Regions from separate parts of the Homo sapiens genome. Here region 2 is linked to region 1. Evidence: promoter capture Hi-C in human tissues and cell types (Jung and others, 2019). All regions are on one chromosome and are shown on one strand. Each heading gives the region's core, a stretch centred on a gene start or on the middle of the fragment in contact. The rest is flanking DNA. Distances are from core to core; before and after follow the strand shown.

Region 1 (7,048 bases), core at 3,409-5,908:
CAAAATATCTCTAAATCCAACCTTAATGGTTAAGTTTCTCTCCTCCTTTCAGCCCTGAACTTTGACCCATCCTCCACAGCCTAAGGAAGCACCCACCCAATCCCTCCTTTATAAACCATCCTAAAAACAGACTAACCTCAGGAAAAATATTCTCTGACCTAGGATCCGATTTTGCACTTTCCACTCTGCCCTCTCCTCCCACCTATTCCTAATCTTATTTGTTCCTCCCCATGAATGAAAAACTTTTTTAGGGGAAGAGGAGGGGAGACAGGGTCTTGCTCTGTTGTCCAGGCTAGAGTACAATGCCAGAATCATTGCTCACTGGAGCCTTGATCTTCTGGGCTCAAGGGATCCTCCCACCTCAGCCTCGGCTGGGACTATAGGTGTGCACCACCACAATTTTTTTTAATTTTGTAGAGAGATGGTCTTACTATGTGTACAGGTTAGTCTCAAACTCCTGACCTCAAGCAATCCTCCTGTTTCGGCCTCCCAAAGTGCTGGGATTATAGATGTAAGCCGCCACTTCCACCAGAAAAGCCTTTTTCTGCCTAACCTCTGGGATGCTTGCAGATCTTGTATCTACTGCTTTCACCTTTTCGTTATACTCCTTTCACATAAAGTCACTTCTTACCTAACTCCGGATTTCTTGTATTTGAGGATGTCTAGAAACAACTCTCTCAAATCATGGGAGCCCATGGTTTACTGTTATTATCTGAACAATTAACTATTACAACCTCAGACAGGGTATCACCCTCCCAACTATGCCTATGTGTGCATCCCCAGCTTCCCAGTGGTCTGTAGCTTCTCTCAGTATAAAGGACCCCTCCCCTGGTTGGAGTGATAAGGCTGGGATGCCTGCCAAGTTCTACCCAGGAAGAACCAACTGGGACTTCAATGACCTCCCTTTGCAGGCTCTTAGTTGGGAGTCACTCTGAGGCACACTTGGCCTCAGACCTCTGCTTCCTTAGACAAGACTATATTCACTTACTTTTTTTTTTTTTTTTTGAGACTGAGTTTCACTCTTGTTGCTCAGGCTGGAGTGCAGTGGCACGATCTCGGCTCACCGCAACTTCCGCCTGCTGGGTTCAAGCAATTCTCCTGCCTCAGCCTCCCGAGTAGCTGGGATTACAGGCATGCGCCACCATGCCCGGCTAATTTTGTATTTTTAGTAGAAACAGGGTTTCTCCATGTTGGTCAGGCTGGTCTCAAACTCACCTCAGGTGATCCACCCACCTCAGCCTCCCAAAGGGCTGGGATTACAGGCATGAGCCACCACGCCCAGTTTCACTTATTTTTAAGTAAGAAAATATCCTGTGTTTGAAGAATCCAGCAAAATCACTCAAACTTACCATTTATGTATATAGGAGGAAAGGAAACTGTAAGACATTTGTATTCTTTTTTTTTTTTTTTTTGAGACGGAGTCTAGCTCTGTCGCCCAGGCTGGAGTCCAGTGGCACGATCCCGGCTCACTGCAACCTCCGCCTCCCGGGTTCACGTCATTCTCCTGCCTCAGCCACCCAGCAGCTGGGACTACAGGCACACACCGCCACACCCGGCTAATTTTTGTATTTTTAGTAGAGACCGGGTTTCACTGTGTTAGCCAGGATGGTTTCCATCTCCTGACCTTGTGATCCGCACACCTTGGCCTCCCAAAGTGCTGGGATTAAAGGCGTGAGCCACCGTGCCCGGCCAATTTTTTGTATTTTTTAGTAGAGACGGGGTTTCACCATGTTAGCCAGGATGGTCGCGATCTCCTGACCTCGTGATCCACCTGCCTTGGTGCTGGGATAACAGGCGTCAGCCATCGCGGCTGGCAAGACATTTGTATTCTATAGCTTAAACATGAAAAGCACATTTATCTATCCCTTTCAGACAATAGAGACCTCACATTATTGTTACTTCCATGACAACTTCTTTACTAATATTTAATTCACTAATATTTAATATTTCAAAGTCCCATCTGATAGGATTTAGCATTAATCACCAAAGTCCAGATGAAAGGATACAGAACAGTTATCCATTACGACAAAATCTCTACCCTGCAAAGGAGAAGATATTTTAGAGAATCTCTGTATTTCACCAATTAATGTGGAAATGTATTCGTTTCTCTGTAGCCATAATGGAAGACTGAATTTCCCTACTTATCTGAGATTCTTATCCGCAGTAGCATTCTCAAGGCTAAGTTCTGGGATTGATCTGAAATCACCCAAAAGAAGAAAATAGACCTGAGAAACCTACCATACATGTTGCGGAGAGGAAACTACACAAATAAGATTTTTTAACAAATTGAATGTAAGACTAGATAATTGTTTTCCCTCAAATCTACTTTCTGCCTCTTTCTCCCCTTTGTGACCCTCCCTTTGCAAACACTTTATCTTGTCTTTCAAGCACTACTGATAAAATACATTCTACATTTAATGAAAAACAGGATCAAATAAGCAAATAAACCTTTTCAAGGGTTTACAAACCCAGGGAGAGGCAATGCTGACCTGGAATACAGACATTTATCTGATTCCAATGTCAGGTGAGGTCACCCTATCCCCTAGGACATCTCCCAGCCCCACCCTGGCTCACTGAGTGCTCAGTGACCAACCTCCCTGAAGACAGTGAATTGTGCCCTGCTCACTCTGCCCCAAGCGCATTTTAACTTTCAGGTTCTCGCACCATTTCAATGGGGCAGGTTTTCCTTCTCCTTTGAGATAGTTTTCCTCCCTTCACTAGACTAAAAACAATCCAGAGGTCAGGAATCATTTGTGTCTTTTCCTCTCAGTAACAGCCTAAGATTGGGTAACCATCAATGTGTCCCTAAGGAACGGAAACTGGGGTTGAGGAAGAAAAGCTGAGCGTCCCAAAGGGTAAACTTTTCAGAGGAAGGGGATACCGGGAGACTCCTCCCACCTCAGGGCATACAGCTGCTCCCGTGAGAGGCCCCACCCCTACACCTTAAGCTGTCCTCTGGGAGGAGTGACCCAGGGGTTGATAATCACTAGATCCTCCAAGAGAAGTGGCAGCTGTGGGTATCCTGGGTCAGGCCCAGGCAGTTCTGAAAATCAGGACCAGGAAAAGATAGAGGGCCACATCACCTTGTAAAGTTTCCAAAGGGGAAACTCCACCCAAAGACATTCTGATTAGGCGTCGGGGCTTAGGAAAGATAAAAGGAGGGGAAGCACAAAAATTTTTTTACCACGGCCGGGCGCGGTGGCTCACGCCTGTAATCCCAGCACTTTGGGAGGCCGAGGCAGGCGGATCACCTGAGGTCGGGAGTTCGAGACCAGCCTGGCCAACATGGAGAAACCCTGTCTCTACTAAAAATACAAAATTAGCCGGGCATGGTGGCGCATGCCTGTAATCCCAGTTACACGGGAGGCTGAGGCAGGAGAATCGCTTGAACCCAGGAGGTGGAGGTTGCAGTGAGCTGAGATCGCGCCATTGCACTCCAGCCTGGGCAATAAGAGCGAAACTCTGTCTCAAAAAAAAAAAAAAATTTTACCGTAGAGTGTCAGGTTCTTATTCTCCGTTTCCCTCTCAGGTTACAAGTACACAAACAAGAGGCCGGGCGCGGTGGCTCACGTCTGTAATACCAGCATTTTGGGAGGCGGAGGTGAGCGGATCACCTGAGGTCTGGAGTTTGAGACCAACCTGGCCAACATGGAGAAACCCAGTTTCTACCAAAAATACAAAAAGTAGCCGGTCGTGGCGGCGCATGCCTGTAATCCCAGTTACTCAGGAGGCTGAGGCAGGAGAATTGCTTGAACCCGGAAGGCGAAGGTTGCAGTGAGCTGAGATCTTCCCACTGCACTCCAGCCTGGGCGACAGAGCGAAACTCTGTCTGAAAAGAAAAAAAAAACAACAAACAGAAAACAAATCCTTTCAAAAGAGTATGGTGAAAGAAACTATAAACAACTAAAATACTGTGTCTTAAATGTCAAACAAAAAACAGCTGATAATGTTGATTTGGCGAGGGGAGGTCACCTTTGGGAATGCGGGGAAGGAACCGGAAATTTAGGCATTTATTTCCAGCCCCAGAAAAAGCTAGGCTAAAAAAAACGGGAGTCGTAGGTTTGAGATTCTTTTTCCAGTACGTTTGGAAGACTCGGAGGAAGACCAGTCCCCCGGAAAAAAAGACGATGTACTGGGAAGGCCACAGCCCACAGCTCTTCCCATGCACGAACCGCACACCCGAGACGGGATTCCGCCTTATGACCCTCCCGTGTCCCAGTACAAACAATCTGGAGAGAGGCGGGGCTGCGGGCGCGGAGCTGCCCAGACAGGGCTCCGAGGCCGAGGCCGCAGTCGCCGCGCAGGGACGGGACAGGACGCCTGGGGTACTGGCTACGGCCCAACCCACCCTGCGGCCGAGGGGACAGAGGGCCGAGCTGCGCCAGGGAACTCGGGTCCCAGACCCTGGAGTCGCTGCAGGGAGGCCAGGGTGCTTCCACAGCCGGTTCCGGCCGGTTCCCACAAGCCCCTCCCCCAGTCTCCAGGCGCCCGGCCCCGCACACGCACCATTTCCTGGCTTCCAGGGTGTCCCGGGGTCCTGCCTACGGCTCTCTCCGGCCTGTGCAGGTCCCAGCGCGCCAGACGCTGCGGTGGAGCCACCGGGGCCACTGGAGAAGCGGAGACCGGAACCCAAACGCAGCGGACACGAAACAGGAAGACCCCGCGGAGTTGTTGAACATTGCCCCTGTCCCCCTTGCAGAGTTCCTGATTGGATGGTTTGCAGGTTCCCGCCCCAGTGCCCCTGATTGGGTGATGATTCAAGTCCTGCCCCCTTGGTACTGAGTGACAGGAGAAGCAATGCGGTATGTGGCTGAGTAAAGACAGATTGACAGGGTCTTGGCCACTGCCCTTCGCGGGCCGGGCTTCCTCCTTCTGTAACCTTCTGTGCCGGGGAGGATATTTGCATTTAAGCAGAAAGTGTTTCAGGCTCTGCAGAGGTGACACTGGCGTGTTTCTGCACTCAGGGTGCCCTTCCTGCCTTTTCCTCCCGGACACAGAGTCACAAGTGTGCACAGGGAATGACAGACTCGGCGTCCAGTGGAGCCATCCCCTGGCCTCGGAGTAGGAGGCGCGCCCAGGCCAGGCCAGACCACAGTGTAACAGGAGGGAGGAGGGCTTGCTTCTTTCAGGCAAGAAAATTAAAACGGACAAAGAAATAAAAGTATTAAATGTATAGGAAAAACTGGAGTTTTTATGACAGCGATCATCTATAAAGAAACCAAGAGAAGTAAGCAAACATTTGAACTAGCTCAGACAAGCAGCCTGCTTCACCCGCAGTTCACAAGGAAAACCCACAATCATAACGTTAAAAATATTCCCAAGCGCCGGGCGCGGTGGCTCACGCCTGTAATCCCAGAACTTTGGAAGGCCAAGGTGAGAAAATTGCTTAAGGTCAGGAGTTCAAGACCAGCCTAACCAACATGGTGAAACCCCATCTCTACTAAAAATACAAAAATTAGCCAGGCGTGGTGGCAGGTGCCTGTAATCCCAGCAACTCGGGAAGCTGAGGTACGAGAATCGCTTGAACCTGGGAGGGGGAAGTTGCAGTGAGCCGAGATAGCGCCATTGCACTCCAGCCTGGGCGACAGAGCGAGACTAAAAAATGAAATATGAAATGAAATGAAATAATGAAATGAAGAAATGAAATATAAAATAAAATAATCCCAAGCTTGGGACCCAGACTCTAACTGCTGAAATGGAACCCCAGTGTGGATCAGAACCTGGTGATGAGACAGGGACACTTAAGAATTCAACTTTGGGAGCTCAAGGTGCCCTCCAGTCCTCTCCTCACAGTGTGGAAACACTCTTTCCTTCAAAACCTTCATTTGTACCAGCAGGAAACTCTCACCCGGAGTCAATGTAAAGTCGTGACCTAAATAAATTGTCATGTTCCCAAACCTTTTCTCCAGGGGACAATGCAAACAAGTTTTTCACTGAGTCTGACCCTCACAGATTTTCTTCATGTATACAAATTACAGCCTGACTCAGCGACCCCATGAATGCTAAAACCAAAACACTGTCCAGGAAATGGCCCCAGGCGCCAAAGGTACAACCTCAGAAAAGACAGAACCCTCCACCCCCAACCCAACCACATCTGCACATGGGTCTCCTGCTTTTCACAGCTCTGCAGCTTCTCAGAATCCACATTCCTGGCCAGGCGCGGTGGCTCACGCCAGCACTTTGAGAGGCCCAGGCGGGCGGATCACCTGAGGTCAGGAGTTCGAGACCAGCCTGGCCAAATGGTGAAACCTCGTCTATAGTAAAAATACAAAAATTAGCCGGGCGTGGTGGCGCGTGCCTGTAATCCCAGCCACTCGGGAGGCTGAGGCAGGAGAACCGCTTGAACCCGGGAGGCAGAGGTTGCAGTAAGCCCAGACTGCGCCACTGCACTCCAGCCTGGGTGCCAAAACAGTGAGACTCTGCCTCAAAAAAATAATAAAAGTAAAAAATAAAATTAAAATTAAAAAAAGAATCTGCACTCCTGAGCAGCTGGAGGCCACCTGCAAGGGCGGGCAGGCTGCCCAAGAAGCACCCTTTCCCTCTCTTTGCAGGCTCCAGACTGGTCTCAGGCTCTCCTGCCCACTGCAGTTTATTCACTTGCTTCTCACCAACACTGATCCACTTAGGTAAGAAAAAAGACCTTCAATCCCCTTTGCTGTTTGTTTGTTTTTAAGAAACTAGCAGAGTTCCTGCTTTCCTTCTGTGGTTATGTATAAGCTGGAAGACAAAAAATTCTAAAATACTTTATATGGATTTTAAAACTGGCAAGTAATGATTCCTTTGAGAAAACAAAGATATCAGCTATGCTATTATGATTTATACATTGGTTTCCATCCATGCTTCCTGACTCATAACTCCCATAGTCCTTGTTACAGTAAACAGAAACTCTCTCTCTCTGACCTTCTCCTGCCCCCCATTCACCTGTCCACTGCAGAACTCTAATGTGATCGTGGGTCATAAGACTCTCACTCCAAAGAGTGTCCTGTCCTGTACGCTGGGGAAAGGAATGCTACACAGAAGCCAAAAATTATCTGGACAGGGGTTGGAT
Region 2 (7,746 bases), core at 4,308-6,807, 240 kb before region 1:
CATCATACTTGCTTCTTCCATCCCTTTCAACATATTGATCATTGCTTTTTTTTTGATATTAAGTAATAGAGGTTATTGTAATAAGTGATTGGAGTGAAACAGACATATTTGCTTTTGCTAGGTTCTGTTCCTCCTTTCACTGGGAAGCCCCTCACCCAGTCCCTCATCATGCTCTGCTCCAAAACACACCTTAACCAGAATCCAACAATGTTCATGTTCAAAATGAAAGACAAAACAAATATTTTCCTAGGCTTAAAAATATGAACATTGAGAGAATTTTTCCTGGCACACCAGCCCTACAAGACCAAAGTTGCCAGGTGCGGTGGCTCGCGTCTGTAATCTCAGCACTTTGGGAGGCCGAGGCTGGTGGATCACTAGAGGTCAGGAGTTTGAGAGCAGCCTGGCAAACATGGCAAAACCCTGTCTCTACAAAAAAAAAAAAAAATACAAAAATTAGCTGGGTGTGGTGGCACACGCCTGTAGTCCCAGCTACTTGGGGGGCTGAGGCAGGACAATCATTTGAACCCGGCAGGTGGAGGTTGCAGTGGCCAAGATAGAGCCACTGCACTCCAGCCTGGGACAATAGAGGAAGACTCCATCTCAAAAAAAAAAAAATTATTGAGTCTGTCAAAATCCACAGGAAAAAGCAGAGAGCACCATGCAAGACTATATAAGTGGAAAAGACAAACTGAATATGTGTTTCTTCACCTTTCTCCTTGTTATGGATTTACAAGTCAATTGTGTAAAGTAATAAGTAGTAATGGATTGTTAGGCCTACAACATAGAAAAATTTAACATACATGTATTATATTTATAAATAACACCATAAAAACTGAACTAAATGACTACCAGTGGAAAAGTAATAATTATAAGAATATATTGTTGAATGTGGAACACTGAGTTGTTACATATGCAACAAAGTACCCCAGAAAGGCAAAAACATAATAGAGCTATAGAGGACAAATATGTGTGTACATCACTGAAATTTAACCACATATTACTGGAGAACTGAGCCTGATTTTGATAAACTAACATTTACATGACAAACACTAGAGTAATCACTACAAAATCTTAGAACAAATGTAATGAAAAATAAATCATCCTACATTGGAAAGATATACTGGGTGAAGGCAGAATTTACTGTGCTTCCTTAATTAAAAATTGACTTGGGCCAGGCGCAGTGGCTCACGCCTGTAATCCCAGCACTTTGGGAGGCCAAGGTGGGCGGATCATCTGAGGTCAGGAGTTTGAGACCAGCTTAGCCGACATGGTGAAACCCCGTTTCTACTAAAAAAAATACAAAAATTAGCTGGGCATGGTGGCATGCGCCTGTAATCCCAGCTACTCAGGAGGCTGAGGCAGGAGAAATGCTTGAACCCGGGAGGCAGAGGTTGCAGTGAGTCGAGATCACGCCACTGCACTCCAGCCTGAGCAACAAGAGTTAAACTCCGTTTCAAAAACAAACAAACAAAAAATTGACTCTACATTCATTCCTTCTAACCTCTAACACAGGTAAAACCTCTAACACAGGTAAAACCTCTAACACAGGTACATTCATTCCATAACATATGGGGAGAAGATTTCCCTCATTCATCTAACGTGGAAATTTCCATGTTATATATTTCCACTTCAACCTTGACTCTACTACTAAAATCAGGAAATTCTTGTGCATGTCATGATCTCTTTCTATCCATTTCTTCAACCTCTAACACAGGTACAGAATTACAGGTTAATCATCTCTTTTTCTGCATTGCATTTTCTCAATTTTCTATTATTAGGGAGATCTTTTCCACTTTATTATTTTTAGTTTGTGCTACTTAACTTTCTCATATTTTGGAAGATTAGTCAGGAACAAAACTTTTAAGTGGCTCAATTATGTGTTTGTTTTGTTTTGTTTGTTTGTTTTTGAAACAGGGTCTCATTCTCTCACCCAGGCTAGAGTGCAGTGAAACAATCTCAGCTCACTGCAGCCTCCACCTCCTGGGCTCAAACGATTCTCATGCCTTAGCCTCCTGAGCAGCTGGGACCACAGGCATGCGCCACCACGCCCTGCTTTTTCTTTTTTTTTTCTTTGAGACGGAGTCTCACTCTGTCGCCCAGGCTGGAGTGCAGTGGCACGATCTCGGCTCACTGCAAGCTCTGCCTCCCGGGTTCACGCCATTCTCGTCTCAGCCTCCTGAGTAGCTGGGACTACAGGCGCCCACCACCATGCCCGGCTAATTTTTTGTATTTTTTTTAGTGGAGATGGGGTTTCACCGTGTTGGCCAGGATGGTCTCGATCTCCTGACCTCGTGATCTGCCCGCCTCGGCCTCCCAAAGTGCTGGGATTACAGGCGTGAGACACCACACCCGGCCTTTTTTTTTTTTTTTTTTTTTTGAGATAGAGTCTCGCTCTGTCACCCAGACTGGAGTGCAGTGGCGCGATCTCAGCTCACTGCAAGTTCTGCCTCCCGGGTTCAAGGGATTCTCCTGCCTCAGCCTCCTGAGTAGCTGGGATTATAGGCACCTGCCACCACACCTGGCTAATTTTTGGATTTTTACTAGACAGGGTTTCGCCATGTTGGCCAGGCTGGTCTCGAACTCCTGACCTCGTGATCTGCCCGCCTCAGCCTCCCAAAGTGCTGGGATTACAGGCGAGAGCCACTGCGCCCAGGCTTTTGTTGTTGTTGTTGTTTTGGTAGAGACAGGCTTTCACCATGTTGCCCACGCTGGTCTTGAACTCATGAACTCAAGCGATCCACCCGGCTTGGCCTCCCAAAGTGTTGGGATTACAGGCGTGGGCCACCGCCTTGCCTGGCCTCAATTATGTTTATGAATGTTGTGAAGTAGAAATTAATATTACCCCTTCAAATAAACAGGAAGGTGTTAGCATACCACACGGGTCCAAAGTGAGTATGGTTCAGATTGGGAACAAAGCTGTGTGGCAGTAGCTGACCTAAGCCTGGGATCAAATCTAAAGGTTGCCTGAGAGAAACAGGGACTGCGTAGGAACAGGTCTTCCATGAACACAGGAAAATGAACAAACTTAGTGCTGCAGACAAGGAGGAATGTGGCCCAGCGCTGCTTGGTAAGTTCATGGTCCAAGGGAGTCTTTGCACTTCTGTGGCTTTTTTTTTTTTTTTTTTGAGACGGAGTCTCACCCCTGTCGCCCAGGCTGGAGTGCAGTGGCAGGATCTTGGCTCACTGCAAGCTCTGCCTCCTGGGTTCACGCCATTCTCCTGCCTCAGCCTCTCTAGTAGCTGGGACTACATGCACCTGCCACCACGCCCGGCTAATTTTTTGTATTCTTTTAGTAGAGACGGGTTTCACCATGTTAGCCAGGATGGTCTCGATCTCCTGACCTCGTGATCCGCATGCCTCGGCCTCCCGAAGTGCTGGGATTACAGGCGTGAGCCACCGCACCCGGCCCACTTCTGTGGCTTCCCCCCCCCGCCATTTTCTCATGGTGCCAAAATTCACATAAGATAGAATTTACCTTGGCTGGGCACGGTGACTCACACCTGTAATCCCAGCACTTTGGGAGGCCAAGGCGGGAGGATCACGGGGTTCGAGACCAACCTGACCAATATGGAGAAACCCTGTCTCTACTAAAAATACAAAATTAGCTGGGTGTGGTGGCACATGCCTGTAATCCCAGCTACTCAGGAGGCTGAGGAAGAAGAAATCACTTGAACCTGGGAGGCAGAGATTGTGGTGAGCCAAGATAGCGCCATTGCACTCCAGCCTGGGCAACAAGAGCAAAACTCCATCTCAAAAAAAAAAAAAAAGATCTACAGGAAGGAGTTTCAGGCCAGCAAGGTCTGGCTTAGCTAGCTACACAATGCATTAGAGCTTCAAGAACTTGAAGAACATGGGAGAATTGGCCTTGGCTGATGCAAAGGAAACATCAGCATTCCTAGAAAAGCTCATGAAACTCATTAAAAAAAAAAAAAAAAAAGAGGCTAACTTCCAGAGCAAATCCTCCATTGTAATGAATCAGGCATGTTCTGGAAGAGGATGCCCAATTGTACCTTCATCACAAGAGTACAAAGAAAGCCTTGGGGTTCATGACTTGGAAAGATTGCCTTACTCTGGTGCTACGTGGCAATGCAGCAGGTCATAAGATCAAACAAAGCCTCCTCTACTAAGTAAACAATCCGTGGGTCCTTGAAAACAAAAGCGAAACTTGCCTGCCCGTGTCCTGACAAAAACACACGAGGACTTGGTTCTACCACTGCTTCATTCCTGATGTGAATGAATACCTTGAAAAGAAGGGGCTGCCACTCAAGGCCCTCCTCATAACTGACAACGCTCCTGGCATCTCTCTTCTCTCTGTTATGCCGATAAAAATGGGGAAGTGATGTTCCTGCCTCCTAAAACTACATCACTGCTACAACTACTTGATCAAAGCATCATCAAGTGCCTCAAGGTGTCTTACACCCACTGGACTTTTGGAAGGATTTATGCTGTCTTGATAATAACCCTCACCATGTCATACAGGATTTATGGAAGAGCTTCCCAACTGCAGAAACGATTGTGTTTATTGCGGAGGCTGTAAATGCCCTACAGCTCAAGACAGCCAAAGTGTGTTGGAAGCCATTATGGAGTGAGGAAGTCAATGATTTCAGGCGCTTCTGCACTATCGATATGATAGTCAGAAATATCTTAAATGTAAGGAAAGTTGGTGGGGAAGGCTATCTCTGACACAAGTGAAGACAATGTTGAGGAACACACAGAAGAGCAAAGAAGAAACCTTTACTAACAAGGAACTAGAAGATATGCTGAAATCCTCTATAGATGATGATGATGATGATGTAGATTTAGAAGAGGCAGTGCCGCCAGGCGTGGTGGCTCACGCCTGTAATCCCAACAGTTTGGGAGGCCGAAGCGGGTGAATCACCTGAGGTCACGAGTTTAAGACCAGCCTGGCCAACATGGTGAAACCCCGTCTCTACTAAAAATACAAAAATTAGCTGGGTGTGGTGGCGGGCACCTGTAATCCCAGCTACTTGGGAGGCTGAGGCATGAGAATCGCTTGAACCCAGGAGGCAGTGTTTGCAGTGAGCCGAGATCGTGCCACTGCACTCCAGCCTGGGTGACAGAGTGAGACTCAGTCTCAATAAATAAATAAAGAGGCAGTGCCATAAGTGGTGGCTCATGCCTGTAATCCCAGCATTCTGAGAGGCCAAGGCAGGCAGATCACTTGAAGTCACAGGGAGTTCAAAACCAGCTTGGCAAACATGGCGAAACCCTGTCTCTACTAAAAATACAAAAATTAGCTGGGCATGGTGGTGCATGCCTGTATTCCCAGCTACTTGGGTGGCTGAGGCAGGAGGATCACTTGAACTTGGGAGGTGGAGGTTGCAGTGAGCTGAGATTGTAATCCCAGCTCCTCAGGTGGCTGATGCAGGAGGATCACTTGAACCTGGGAGGTGGAGGCTGCAGTGAGCTGAGATTGCACCACTGCACTTCAGCCTCAGCGACAGAGTGAGACTCTGTCTGAAAAAAAAAAAAAGAAGCAGTGCTATAGATTTTGATACTTGAAAAATCTGAAGGCTGGGTGTGGTGGCTCACCCTGTAATCCTAGTAATTTGGGAGGCCAAGGCAGGCAGATCTCTTGATTCCAGGAGTTCAAGACCAGCCTGGGAAACATGGTGAAACCTTGTCTCCACAAAAAACACAAAAAGTAGCCAGGCATCGTGATGTGTGCCTATAATCCCAGCTACTTGGGAGGCTGAGGTGGGAAGATCACTTGAGCCCAGGAAGTTGAGGCTGCAGTGAGCCATGCACTGTAGGGTGACAGAGTGAGATCTTGTCTTAAAAAAAAAAAAAAAGAAAAGAAAAAGAAAAAAAAAGAAAAATTGGAAGCAGTTTTAGGGCACCTACAGCTTCTACAAGGCGCAAGTGTTAAAGATTATCATCCTCAATTAAGATTCTTCCATGGAACAAAGCCTCCATGTCACCCCAGAGATTACATGCTCACAAACGTTGCAAAGTTTAAAAAAAAAAAAACTAGCTTCCTACAATGTTTCTAATTAAATATCTGCAAATATGAAGACAGCCTTCAATGCTTAAAGATCTTCAGTCCTCAAATTGAACAGATTCTGACATTAGTATTATTTAGACTGCTCCAAAAATTCAGTATCTGCAGTCAGAATCTGTTTCTTCCAATATAGTTGATCATGTTGACATCCTGTCAAGATTCGAGTTAGCCTGAGGTCTCACTGCTTATCTGTGGTGTCACACATCTAGCTGACTCAACACATCACAACATTAGGCACGATATTGCAATAATCATCATTACACTTTTGTTGGGTGAATGTTAACACATTTTCAGGTCATTAAACAAAAGCAATCTATGAGTGTTGAAAGAAAAGATTTATAATGCTCTAGGTGACATGTATTATGTGGGTGGGTCTGTACTGAATATGTGTAGGGTCTTTCTCATATCATGATTCACTAAACAATATAATAACAACTATTTACATAGCTTCTATGATGCATGATGTATTTTAACTAATCTACAGATGATTTAGAGTATACAGGAGGATGTGGGTAGGTTACATGCAAATATTTTTTATTGTTATTATTTTTTTGAGACAGGGTCTCATTCTGTTGCCCATGCTAGAATGCAGTGATGTGATTTTGACTCACCGCAACCTCAACCTCCCAGGCTCAAGCGATCCTCCCACCTCAGCTTCCCTAGTAGCTGGGACTACAGGTACATGTCACCACACCTGGCTAATTTGTGTATCTTCTGTAGAGACAGGGTTTTGCCACATTACCCAGGCTGGCCTCTAACTCCTGGGCTCAAGTGATCCACCTGTCTTGGGCTCCTAAGGTGCTAGGATTACAGAGGTGAGCAACTGTGTCTAACCCAAATATGTCTTTTCTTTCTTTCCTTTTTTTTTTTTTTTGTGTGTGTGACAGAGGTTGTTTTGCTCTTGCTGCCCAGGCTGGAGTGCAGTGGCGCGATCTTGGCTCACCGCAACCTCCGCCTCCCGGATTCAAGTGATTATCCTGCCTCAGCCTCCTGAGTAGCTGGGATTACAGGCATGTGCCATCACATCCGGGTAATTTTGTACCAAATATGTCATTTTTAAAAAAGGACTTGGCATGTGTCGATTTATGTATGCCCAGGGGGTGGTAGAACCACGCTCCTGCAAATATTAGGGGATAACTGTATTTGAAAGAAACTGAGGCTTAAAATTAAGGCTTTACTATGTGTTTACATTCATAGGGTTTATCTCCAATGAGAATTATTTCTATCTGAAATGAAATAACATTAAAGAATACTTCCCTACATTTCACACATTTATAGAGTATCTCTCCAGTGAGTCCTTTTATGTCTATGCAAGGACCTGAGAGAACTCAATGCTTTTCTACATTTCTTACATTCATATGACTTCTCTCCAGAGTGAATCCTTTCATGTACTTTTTTTTTTTTTTTGAGACAGGGTCTGGCTCTGTCGCCCAGGCTGGGGTGCAGTGCATCTTGGCTCACTGCAACCCCCACCCCTTGGGCTCAAGAGATCTTCCCACCTCAGCCTCCCAAGTAGCTGGGACTACAGGGGCATACCACCACACCTGCTACTTTTTCTATTTTTTGTAGAGACATGGTTTCACCATTTTGCCCAGGCAGGCCTCAAATTCCTGAGGTCAAGCAATTTGCCCACCCTAAGTGCTGGGATTACAGGCGTGAGCCACTGTGCCCAGCCTCATGTACTTTTAAGTTACCAAAATGACTGAAGGCTTCCCTACATATTT

Evidence for each region. The method cuts DNA at HindIII sites, captures the fragments that hold promoters and counts their contacts. A contact is called where the count stands out against the background at its distance.
Region 2: a contact is called between a fragment that was not itself captured here and the fragment with the promoter of ZNF564 in region 1, in 2 of the 25 tissues and cell types used here (liver and pancreas).

What each region holds. Positions count from the first base shown.
Region 1 is chr19:12,546,824-12,553,871 of GRCh38, forward strand. ZNF564 (zinc finger protein 564) reads right to left here and starts at 4,659. Exons shown (of 4, transcript NM_144976.4): 1 at 4,507-4,659. The coding sequence starts at 4,509. It overlaps LINC02926 (long intergenic non-protein coding RNA 2926), which reads left to right and starts at 4,903. Exons shown (of 2, transcript NR_187485.1): 1 at 4,903-6,046; 2 at 6,552-6,821. RefSeq lists enhancers at 3,296-3,798, 4,457-4,566, 4,632-4,926, 5,710-6,211, 6,212-6,711 and a silencer at 4,147-4,226. The HindIII fragment of the contact is 29,302 bases long and covers 1-7,048 here.
Region 2 is chr19:12,310,596-12,318,341 of GRCh38, forward strand. It overlaps ZNF563 (zinc finger protein 563), which reads right to left. Exons shown (of 4, transcript NM_145276.3): 4 at 6,882-7,746. Among named protein-coding and RNA genes, the nearest start is that of ZNF563, 19 kb to the right of the region's middle. The HindIII fragment of the contact is 6,161 bases long and covers 2,478-7,746 here.